Regions from separate parts of the Homo sapiens genome. Here region 2 is linked to region 1. Evidence: promoter capture Hi-C in 16 types of primary human blood cells and fetal thymus (Javierre and others, 2016). All regions are on one chromosome and are shown on one strand. Each heading gives the region's core, a stretch centred on a gene start or on the middle of the fragment in contact. The rest is flanking DNA. Distances are from core to core; before and after follow the strand shown.

Evidence for each region. The method cuts DNA at HindIII sites, captures the fragments that hold promoters and counts their contacts. A CHiCAGO score of 5 or more calls a contact.
Region 2: a fragment that was not itself captured here is called in contact with the fragment with the promoter of CCN3 in region 1 in 1 of 17 cell types (endothelial precursors); the score reaches 5.9 in endothelial precursors.

What each region holds. Positions count from the first base shown.
Region 1 is chr8:119,411,686-119,418,024 of GRCh38, forward strand. CCN3 (cellular communication network factor 3) reads left to right here and starts at 4,761. Exons shown (of 5, transcript NM_002514.4): 1 at 4,761-4,931; 2 at 5,059-5,284. The coding sequence starts at 4,848. It overlaps LOC124902009 (a long non-coding RNA gene), which reads right to left and starts at 4,624. Exons shown (of 2, transcript XR_007061077.1): 1 at 3,286-4,624. The HindIII fragment of the contact is 11,014 bases long and covers 2,188-6,339 here.
Region 2 is chr8:118,736,602-118,742,697 of GRCh38, forward strand. No RefSeq gene overlaps it. Among named protein-coding and RNA genes, the nearest start is that of SAMD12, 120 kb to the left of the region's middle. RefSeq lists an enhancer at 1,302-1,815. The HindIII fragment of the contact is 4,323 bases long and covers 1-4,046 here.

The sequences.
Region 1 (6,339 bases), core at 3,511-6,010:
GTCCTTGCAGTTCATAACCCCATGGTTAGCTGCCAAGCCCAGCAATTCAAAAAAGAATCTCTAATAAGGTATCCCCTGACTTCTCCCAGAGACCTCAACTGCCACATGGATTATTTCAAACAGGAGAAGATCACCAGCCTGTATTCCATCCTTTTAGTGCCAAGCAAGACCCAGAGAAGTTTCATGTCACAGGCTGATGGGTGGTGGCTGATAGGACCAATTTAGCTGCTGCTGAAGAGCAAACAGCCTCCAGTTTGTTTCTTATCTCATCTTATGCAGAGCAATGAAAAGTGGCAAAACTTAAAGTGGAGTTTGCAGTATCTCAAAAGGTCCAAGAACTGACCACTTGCCTGACCCTGAGGTGGATGTTGGGGATGTTACTGTAAATACGACATGCTCTGTGTCCTCAAGGACTCCCAGGCAGGACAGGGAGGCAGTCACCAAAACAGACAAGTACAGTCACATCTTACATAACAATATTTTGGTCACCTACGGACGGCATGTACAATGGTGGTCCCATAAGACTGTAATGGAGCTGAAAAATTCCTATAGCCTAGTGACATAGTAGCTGTCATGACATTGTAGCACACTCATGTGTCTATGGTAATGCTAGTGTAAGCAAACTTACTGCACTTTCAGGCATATAAAAGTATAGCACATATAATTATGTATAGTCCATGTTTGATGATGATAATAAGTGACTATGTCACTGGTTTATGTATTTACTATACTTTTCATCATTATTTTAGAGCATACTTCTACTCATAAAAAAAAGTTAACTATAAAACAGTCTCAGGCAGATCCTTCAGAAAGTATTTCAGAAGAAGACATTGTTATCTGAGGAGATGACAGCTCCATGTGTGTTATTACCCCTGACAACCTTCCAGTGGGACAGGATGTGGAGTGGAAGACAGTGACACTGATGATCCTGACCTTGTGTAGACCTAGGCTAATATGTATGTTTGTGTGTTATTTTTCACAAAAAAAAAAAAAATAAAAATATTAAAACTAGAAAAAAGCTTATAGAGGCCAGGCACAGTGGCTCATGCCTGTAATCCCAGCACTTTGGGAGGCCGAGGCAGGTGGATCACGAGGTGAAGAGATTGAGACCACCCTGGCCAATATGGTGAAACACTGTCTCTACTAAAAATACAAAAAATTAGCTGGGCGTGGTTGTGTGTGCCTATAGTCCCAGCTACTTGGGAGGCTGAGGCAGGAGAATTGCTTGAACCAGGGAGGCAGAGGTTGCAGTGAGCCAAGATTGCACCACTGTACTCCAGCCTGGTGACAGAGAGGGACTCCATCTCAAAAAAAAAAAAAAAAAAAAAAAGCCTGTAGAATAAGGATATAAAGAAAATATTTTTGTACATCTGTACAATGTATCTGTGTTTTAAGGTAGGTGTTATTACAAAAGGGTCGAAAAGTTAAAAAAATTAAAAGTTTATACAGTAAAAAAGTTACAGTAAGCTAAAGTTAATTTATCATTGAAAAAGGAAATTTTTGAATAAATTTAGCTTAGCCTAAGTGTAGTGTTTATAAAGGCTATAGTAGTGTGCAGTTATGTCCAAGGCCTTAACATTCACCCACCACTGACTCACTGACACCCACTGCAAGCTCCATTCACGGTAAGTGCCCTACACAGGTGGACAATTTTTTATCTTTTATACCATATTTTTACTGCACCTTTTCTAAGTTTAGATATGTTTAAATCACAAATACTTACCATTGTATTACAGTTGCCTACAGTATTCAGTGCAGTATATTCTGTACTGTTTGTACGTTTGTAGCCTAGGAGTAATAGACTATATCATACAGCCTAGGTGTGTAGTAGGCTACACCATCCGCATCTGTGTAACTACACTCTATGATGTTCACACAACAATGAAATCACCCAAGGACACATTTCTCCAACAATATCCCCATCATTAAATGGTGTGACTATAATGATTATCCAGTGAGTTATGAGATAAAAGAGATAAGCTCGGCATCCCAGGCCTGCACTGCGGATAACATCTATCCCGGCATGAAGGATTTCAGAGACTATGTCCTGGAGGCAGTGAAGCATGACATGACATGATTATCATCAGATGGTATCACTTTCAATTTACAATTGTTTTAAGATGAAGATCCTCATCCTAGAGCATTTATAGCAGATGATGGAGTGGATGTGTATTGTTTTGCTCACCAAGCTTGCTTTCTTTTTAAGGAACAGTCCTTTCTTCCCAAGAGAACTGCTCTTTCTCTCCATTCCAACCATGAGGTTCTAACTAATCCCCATACTTCACCTTCCTTGTCCCCATTGATTAGTCCAGGGTGAACCCATCCAATTTAATTCCTGGAACTTTTAAAGTTGGGCCTAAGAGACAGGGACATTCCTTCTGTGGTGATAAGGTCATAAAGTAAGAAGATTGGAAGGATCATTTTTCCCTTATGTGGAAGTAATCCTGTTGGCCCTCCTCTCTCTAGATCCCAATTGCCTCTGAGGACTCCCTGTACCATTCCTGTGCTGTCACTATGTGAAACATCACAGCATCCTTCCAGTAAAGTCCTCTTTTCGCAAAAACTAGTTCAAGTTTGGTTTCCATCTCTTGCAATCAAAACTGAATAGCAATTTTACACTTGCAGTGACTTCTTGACATGTTAATCCTTGTCTTAAAGTTACATTTTCCCTGTCACCACTCCCACCCCACTCTTTCCAAGAAGAGCTAGCCCAATCTCCATGTTGCCAATTTCTCCTTGTTCTATCTGAGTCTATTCATGCTTGGAACACTTGGCCGATGCTCTTTGCCTCCCCATTAGCAGTGCTTCTAGTTGCTCCATTTCAAAGTACATTAAAATGCTGTCTACCAAGAGCCACCACCAGAGAATCCTACTGAGTGGGTCAAGAGTGGGGCTCAGGAATCTGTATTTTTAACAAAATACATGCTGGTTGATTCGATCTGCAGCCAGATGGAGGCATCATTAGGCCAAATGGCTTACAAAACCTATCAGTTTTTTTGTTTTTTGTTTTATCTTTTTCTTAAACTTTTATTTCAAGTTCAGGGGTAAATGTGCAGGTTTGTTTACACAGGTAAATGTGTGTCATGGACATTTGTTGTGCAGATTATTTCATCGCCCAGGTATTAAGCCTGGTACCCATTAGTTATTTTTCCCGATCTTCTCCCTGCTCCCACCCTCCACCCTCCAAAGCCTATCAATTTGAAGAGTAGGTAAATGTCCTACTCAAGAGTGCAAATGAACTGTTTCATCTCTAGTTAAGTTTGAGTACTACTCAGTCTCATTTACCTCAAAGAAAGCAGAACTATTAGAGGCTTGGAAGTGTGTCATAGTGGTTTCAGGCTGCCGAGAGAATTATCTAGAAGGGGCTTGAGGTGACCTCATCATCTGCGGGTGTTGCAGAGGCAGACCTGGCCCCTTCCGCAAGCTGCCTTTGATTTCCTTCATGCTGGGGACAGATGAGGTAGAGGCCATTTGTTTCTTTTTAAACTCTAGAATTACATCACAGGCCTGTATAATTTTCCTTAAAAAGTGTTTTTTGTTTTTTTCCAAAGCAACTATCCTCAAAAGAGCTGGGCATAGTTCTCCTAGGGGCAGCACCAGTGTTGAAGTGTGGGGGGAAACTGTTCTAAATCCTTCAAACAATGTCACCTTTGGAGCAGTAAAACTGCTCCCTTTTTCCCATGAGAGATGACAAGCATGCCCCAGCAATCATTTCTTGAAAGCGGATGCCCGGTGAGAGAAGGATTTGATTTGCTGAAGGGTCAGCCAAGTTAAGCCAGTTTCTTCCTCATTTCTTCCCTGGCTGGAGGTTTTGATGGTGGTGATGGTGGTTGAACTGAACCCACTTAGAAAACTGTCAAAGGTTTCTGGACTCTCAGGTGTGCCGTCTCACATTTGGTCTGCTACAGCAGGTGCTTCAAGGCTTTCTTCTGCCAAGATTTCTTTGTTTTATTTTATGATGTTTTCTTTATGTGTGTGTGTGTGTGTGTGTGTGTGTGTGTGTGTGTGTGTTTTACTTTTATTTCTAACAAACCTGTGGACCTTGGGGTTTAAGACTGAGTGAAGCTAGAAGGATTAGAGTCAAAAGAATTTTGCCATTTGGCCAATAGCATTCCCCACCTCCTGACATATCGATTTTTTTTCTAGATTCCCTTCCCCCTGCCACTCCCCTCCCCCCAACACACACACACTTTTCTCTTTCTCCTCTTTCTCTCCTTTCCTCCCTTGCTTCTCTCCCCTCCCTCTCAACACATTCAATGAGTGCCCTAAACGGTGACAAACTTGCATGTGCTTCCCTCATGACTAAACCCCTGGGCCTTCTGCCAATCCCCTGCAGATGGCCCCAAACTGCAGGCATCCCGTAAGGGGACCCCACGCTTGCAGCCCTGGTTGGAACGGTCAGGGTGGAGGAGGATGGTGGGGAGTGGTGGTGTCTTCGTCCTGGGAGAAGGCGAAGCAACTTCCAGGAGGAAACGGGCGTTTCCTTCCCACGCGCTCGAGCGAGCCCTGGGTCCTGGCCTCGGAACTCCACCCAGCCCCTCCCCACCCTCTGGGAAAAGCCAGTCGCCACACACAGGCACACGCAGGCCCCGGCGCCGCGCCCTAAGGAGAGCAGCACCCACAGCCAATTGCCATGGCAACCCCGGGGTTCGTTCCACTTCCCCACCCAGCCGATCTCCCCCCTCCTCCCTGCACTGCAGCCAACCGGCTTGTGCGCGTCCCAGGAGCGCGCTATAAAACCTGTGCTGGGCGTGATCGGCAAGCACCGGACCAGGGGGAAGGCGAGCAGTGCCAATCTACAGCGAAGAAAGTCTCGTTTGGTAAAAGCGAGAGGGGAAAGCCTGAGCATGCAGAGTGTGCAGAGCACGAGCTTTTGTCTCCGAAAGCAGTGCCTTTGCCTGACCTTCCTGCTTCTCCATCTCCTGGGACAGGTAAGTGGCACACCCTTAAGATGCCCCCAAGTTACTTTGCCCGCCTTGGTGGCCCCCATTTGGTCACCGGGCTCACTGCGTCTTCTGTCCCAGCTGAGTGGTTTCTCCTTGTCTCGCCTGCCTTCAGGTCGCTGCGACTCAGCGCTGCCCTCCCCAGTGCCCGGGCCGGTGCCCTGCGACGCCGCCGACCTGCGCCCCCGGGGTGCGCGCGGTGCTGGACGGCTGCTCATGCTGTCTGGTGTGTGCCCGCCAGCGTGGCGAGAGCTGCTCAGATCTGGAGCCATGCGACGAGAGCAGTGGCCTCTACTGTGATCGCAGCGCGGACCCCAGCAACCAGACTGGCATCTGCACGGGTAATCCTGCTCCCTCTGCTGTTTGACCTCTTCTCCTGCAGCTAAGTGAAGCTGCTTCCTCCCTTCTCTTTTGTATTCCCCTTCCCAGAGGGCGATAAGCAAATAATAATAATGCAATAAATGACATGTATAGAGCACTTACTGTGTGTCAGGCATGGTTTGGGGAGCACTTGGGGCTTTGGGGAGCGCCAGAGCCAGAAAGGAAACCTGCCCTGGGGGTGAAAGGCATTCCTCACTTGGCTTCCTAGACAAGAATCTAAGCAAAGGGGGAGCCACGCAGAGTTAAGGGCCAGTGAAGTCATTTCCTTCGGACACTTCTAGGGGGCCACTTGGGGCTGATGGAAGCTCGGGTTTACTCACACGCTCACAGTTTCCCAAACTGCAGTTGGGGAAAACCCAGCAGGTTTGTTTTCACACCTGTAATTGTCCCATTTGAACCAAAGCAGCTGCTAGTCTCCTGGGATAACTATGTAACCCTTTTCTGGCTGCAAGTAAAATAAAATGCAGGCAACTAGCCAATCCAGGCTTCTAAAACGTAATCAGTCGGGGATCAATTTTTCACATGATACAACATTGTAGTTGAAGATTGTCCCTTCCTTTCTGGACAGGAGGGCTTTTACTTTTTTCTCTAAGCTACTGATGATTTTATTATGCTTGAGTGTCAAGGAATCTTAATGCCCTTCCCAATTTGATCAGCTAACCTGTTGGAAAACATAAAGTACACTTTTTCTCTTTTTAAGTCTAAGCTGCTGGAGTAGGAAACTCTAAGGAGGTTCTCGCAAAATGACTGAACATTGGGAAAAATGGCCAGGGGACCTTGGGGACATCACTTCACAGTTGCACACCTCTTTCCTCATCCATAAAATGAGTGGCAAGACTAGATGATCTTGAAGGTTTCTTCTTGCTCTGAGAGGCCTCCATGAGGACATCACTCTACAGTAGATACATGAGAAACCAGATCGCCTGAACTAGAAAAGGACTTGGGTTTTGGAACATGCCCTCCAAATCTTACATAGCTTCTTCACTGTATTGTGTTCTTGTTTTTCCTCTTCCTC
Region 2 (6,096 bases), core at 635-3,134, 680 kb before region 1:
AAGATAAATAGCTACAGGTAGGATGTTGGCAAAGATATACATGTAATTTCACACAATTCCTATTTCTCATCCTAAAGCCTAGGCTTGACATTTGCCTAACACTTCTCATACTGAGAGATCTGATAGACTTCAAGGCATATGGTGATAAAATCAGGTTATTTTTATATTAAACCCTAGTTTCATTAATATGACCTATTGAAGGAATCACATAAATTATTCTTTCAGGAAGAAATGTAAAAATTATTTTGCATCGCATTCAGTGCTTTAGGTCTAATATACTCTTAGTGATTAATTACTATCAATAATACTAATTAATAGTAATTAATTATGGATATGATTTACTGTAACACCCTTACTAATGGTGTCATTTATAACAACAATAATAATGATAATAATTAATAGCTCCTATATTGATGCCTTTTCTATTCCTGTGTCACTGTAGTAAATGTTATATATGAATTATCTCATTTAGTCCTAAAACACTTTAATTTCTACTTAAAAAAAAAAAGAAATAATTTCTGAAAGTTTAGGGAACCTGCTGCCAGCCCAATTGCTCGCAAGTGGTTGGGCTCATATTTGAAGTTTGGGCTATATGAATCCAAGAACTATGTTCCTAATGTTATGTAAAATACCTCTTTTTTATGGCTAAGATTTAGAATATCAAATTTAATTTAACCTAAACCTTAATTGTATTTAGGCTACCTTTTTACATAAGGGCACCACAAATTAAAATAATTGAGAAAAAATTTAAAAAACAATTTTAATTTCTACTGAGAATATTATTACTGAGAATTTATTTTAAATGAGGCAATTGAGGCCACACGTTTATTACATATTCACATGTTCCTAAATGCAGCTTCAAGGACCCTGAGTGTGTCTGACCAGGGGTAGGCTTATCTGGGAATTTCTGCTTCTTCATGTATCTCTCTGGATTTACAGATAATGATTTAGCAGGCAGGCAAACGGCTTTCTTGTACTACCTCTGGGCAACTATGAGACCTGAGACAAGTTTCCACACCTTCCTGGATTTCATTTTCACTCATTTGTAAAATTCGGGATGGGCTGACTCTGAGGTCATTCCAGTGTTAATATTCTCTTGTGTCTCTCTTACATCCTGATGTCACAAAACTTCTTTTTAACTGATAGCTGAATCTGTAGATGGACCAGCCAAACATTTTCCTGGGGGTATGTGATGGATTCATAGTATATCAGTTTTGCTAACCTGGAACTGATGGTCCCAGAATTCCCTTCCATATATAGCGCCAGGATGGGTGAACCACAAAAGATGCTCTGAACAAGAGTGAAAAGGTGGAAGTGAAACAGCAGTGACATTCCTTTTATTTTATGTCCAAGAGGTCAGTGTCAGCCAGGCCATGAAATGTTGTTGTCTCTAATGCATGTTGTCTTTTCTTTGCTGGCTTACCTGTGGGCATGTAGAACTCCAGCCCTCTTAGTTTTTCTGACTCATGGGTCAGGTGTAGGTTTAGCTCTGTGACAAAGGGGGCCACTCCTCCTTCATTTCACTCCCATCATCCAAGTGAAAGGCTCAGAGGCAGTGAGAGTCCCATGCAGATTCTCATCCATTCTCACAGGTTCCAGCCCAGCCCTGCAGGGTTCCTTTTGAGCTTGCTTCCATTTCACATTCTTCCATGCCCAACTGCCAGCCCCAGCTGACTTTCCCAGCTGCAGAAGCTATAGCTCAATAGATTCTTTAGCCCACAATCATCTAAGACCAAATACCTATAATAAATCTCTTATTATATAAATCTTCTAGTGGTTCTGCTTCTCTGATCAAACCCTGACTAATATACGTTGCTAAAACAGCTTTGGGGAGAGAATTAGATGGAGAAAATAGCATCTAGCTGAACTCTTGCCAGGAAAATAATGTGTGTGATTGAATAGGATTTTTGTTAAGCTATTTTGGGGGACTGTTTTAATGAGAAAACTGGGGTAACAATTTGTGTTTAACTAAGCTGCCTTTTAAGAAAGGGAGTCTAGTTCAGTTCAGGGCTTCTGTTTTTCATCTGAATGAGGATGCAAGTTAGAGGGTCAGAACTAAATTGGCCAGGGCGCTCCAATGACCTCCTTTCTTTAGGCAGAGCTCCGAATCTTCTCCAAACACATAGTTAAACCTATTTTAGGACTAGTGGCTTAAAGGGCTTTCAAATTATTAGGCTGCCGGAGGCAACTTCATGTCTTGTATCTCTGAAAGCCAGTTGCTATTTCTACTTCACCAATGCCATAAGCTCTGTGATAATTTTTTTAAAATGGCACCTTTTGCAACAATTAACAAAGCAAAATTTCCTCTGTTTTTGGAGTATTAGGATGAGCAGTTTAGCCCTACTCTGCAGTAAACCACTCTCAAACACCTTCTATTATTTCAGACAGATAATATGAATTTCTTTGTCAGCTCATTAAAGTATATTTGGGACTTCTTGTACAATCATTATTTTGTTTCTTGGTTTGAGTAAACCTTCAAAAGTTTCAAATTCCAGGAAAATAATGTAGGAATGGTGAGGCTTAGGCATCCCTAATTGCATGGTGCTGTCTAATTCAATTAGTTATTTTGTCCTGTCACCAACAGAAGTTTTGAAAGATTGTGGAGGAGGAAAATTCACAAATTTAACTTTAATAGCATAGTTAAAATAAACATAATAATGGTGAATCATGATAGAAATTTGGACACTCATTTTTTTGTGTGATTTAAGGAGCTATTCACCCTCAGGTGTGAATGGCAATTAAAGACATATAGAGTAATCTTGCAACACTTTGCAAACATTTATGCATTGGCAGAAATTGTGTTTTGCCTGTAAAAATTTCAGTGACCTCTTTATTCTCTTTCTCAGGTTTTCTAGAGTCCGTGTTTATAATAGACTAACCAGCTCCCTCAGCCTTTCCATCCAATGTGAGCAAAAACATAAAATGAATTGAAAAGCAAGGCAAAGTATGCTGGTAGTACTAGGCCTATCGTTTAGTAATAATAACATATTTTCTTTTTTTCTAGCACTTGGTGCTTTGTGCACATCACTTTTGTATCTGTTGTCTCATGTGACAGTTAATTTTTATGTGTTGACATGGCTAGGCTATGGTGCCCAGTTGTTGGGTCAAAATAGCAATCTAGATGTTTCTGTGAAGGTATTTTTAGATGTCAGTAGACTCTGAGTAAAGCAGATTACCCTTATAATGTGAGTGGCCCTCAGCCAGTCAGTTGAAGGTCTTGAGACCAAAGACAGAGGTCCCTCGAAGAGAAAAGAATTCTGCCTCCAGACTGTCTTCAGCCTTAAGGCTGCACCATCAACTTTTACTGGAATTTCTGGGGTGCCATCCTGCTCTACGGATTTTGGACTTGCCACCCCCCACAATTTGTGAGCCTATCCCTTAAAATAAATCTATCTACAGCTATGCCTTTCATACCTATACACCTATCTCTATCTTCATCTCTCTCTCTCTAAGATTTATCTCCTAGTGGTTCTGTTTCTCTGGAGAAATCTGACTTATACAGGTCACTTAAAAACCACTTCATCAGAAAGATGGGTAAGAGCATGACCTTTTGAGTGAAAAAGTTCTAGGGGTTAAATTCTGGCTTTGCAACTTATCAACTTTCTGATCTCTGAGAATTAAAAAAAACTTTCATAATCCTCACTCTTCAACAGCTGTAAAATAGGAATAATAAAAATAACAATATTTGTTAGACTTTTACTATATGCCAAACAGTGTATTAAATGCCTCACATGCATTATTTCATGTTAACAACAACCCTATTAAACAGTGAGTGTGGCTGGCCATATTGGCATCTTAGGCAGCCACCATTTGCATCTTTGGCAGTCACTCATCTTCTGTAAAGAACTGATCTCTCTCCCACCGACCCCACTTGTGTGCGTGCTCTTGTGTGAAGAGCTGGTGTCAAGGTATCAGCTCCGCTCTCCCATGAGTGACTCAGGCCCCTGCCTTTCAGTGTGCTGGTCTCTCTAGCAGTCATGGGGGTTGGTGGTTTTGCCTGATTTTTCCCAGATCCAAATTCTACCATTTACTTGAGCATTTACCCAAGCTTATTAAATAGATCTCACCATCATCGAAGAAAAAATGGCAAGTAAATCTCACTCACTTTTCTCTGAAGCTGGTTCAGACTGCAGAATTCTCTTAAATTATCCAGTAGACAGGCTCTGATCACATCTGGGATTGAAGATGCTCCAGCTGCTTTTCTCTCTAAGATCAAAGTTATTTTTTGACAACACATGCTGACGAATCCAAACTGACGCCAATAACTGTTTATAGTTTCTCTGGGTGCAAACATAAATATTTTAGATGACTGCATCCATTTGTTATCACTGTGGCAGAACCCACTTCTCTTATTCTAAAGGAACTGAAAATTGTTGGACCTCTCACCTCCTGTGTGTTCAGAAAGCCAAACTTCTTTCTTTTCTGCCAATATTCCAGGACCCTAAGAGGTCTCCGTAGAAAACTTACAAGTATATTCACAAAAGTGAGCATCGTATTGATGCTATGTTGCTTTTTTATTTTCCTAAGTCTACTATGCAGTGTTTCTCCCTACATTCCCCACTTCTATTTTCAATTTTGTATATATAGGACTGGACAATATACCAGAGTTTCTATTCCTAAGTAAGAACCTAATTTCCTAGATGTTGTTTTTAACCCTCAAATTGCTTTTAAAAACCAGATCATAAATAATAGCTATTTTCAAAGTTCTCTTATATGCATTATCTCATTTAATGCACAAAATTTTCCAAGAGAAAATTACTCATAAATTCATTCTTAGAAACGTTATTCCACATACCCCAAGTCAGAGTGCCGAAGAGTGGTGGGGCTGGGTATAATAGAGTTGCATTGCCCACAAGCAGGGCCTGGGAGCATGTACCCACCCTGATGGCTCTTAGCCAATGCCTGCCTGGGCTGGATTATGAAACTCCAGCATGCTTGATTCAGATTGAGATGATTTTGAGGGGTAACTTCCACTCCAGCATGCCCCACTGGGATTGGACTGTATTTTTCCTCATCAAACCTTTTGCTTGAGGTCATGCCCATCCTTGGCTTCTTCCCTACTTTATTTTCCTTCTTTTTGTCCCTTATAAGTTTCCTGGAGATCCCATTCTTAATGAACAATTTGCACACAAATTCTTTCTCAGTATCTGATACTGGTTATCCTCACCTAAGACACCAACCAATAGTGCTTGATATCAGAGCTCAAGCTCTTACACATGATCCAATTTGAGATTCTTCCTAAAAAGGTGCCAATTATTCTTCCTTATAAGAGAAAACCTTAATTATAGGCAAATGTAATTAGATGGATAATGTGCACACACATTCCTTCCTTTACGTGTATTTATTAAGTATTTAATATGAGCCAGATTTAATCTAAGTACTGGTGATACAATGTTAAATGAGATAGCAAAGTCTCTGTTTTCATGGCTTTACATTCCAATACTAGAATATAAGTAAAAAAGTGAAAAAAAAGGAACAAGATAATTGCTGATAGGATCAATGGTATGAAGCAAGTAAAATGGAGTTATGAAATCCAGAAGGGAAAGGACTGATTTTCACAGGGTGCTCAGGAAGGTGTACTGGCCTGAGGCAGTGATATTCTCTGTGACACTGAAATGAAAAGAAGGAGCTGGACGTGCAAGAATATGGTGCCATACAGAGAAATAAGCAAATCTGAACTCCTAAGTGGGAGCAGCCTGGGAGAGTTGGAAGAACAGAGAGAAGGCCAGAGTGCCTGCAGTATATTGAGTTGTGGGAAGGGAGGAAGCTGAGAGAGTGAAGAATAAGTAGAGGCAAGATTATGGAAGGGCTTTGTAAACCATGCTATGGGGTTCAGGTTTTATTCTCTGGGTCATCCCTGGAGGTTTATAGTTTAGAAAGATCATTCCAACTGTGCTGCTGAGAATTGAAGATGAAGAGGCAAAAGTGGATGCTGGGACCATTAAATAGGCTATGGTTGTAGATGATAAAGAAAAATGAAAGTGGGCTGGACTCTTGGACTCCTCTGGCCCCTGTAGATAAAGAGAGGTGGAGATAGTTTTGGATTTTGAGGTAGGGCTGCCAAGACATGGAGACGGATTGGGTTTGGTGAGTGAG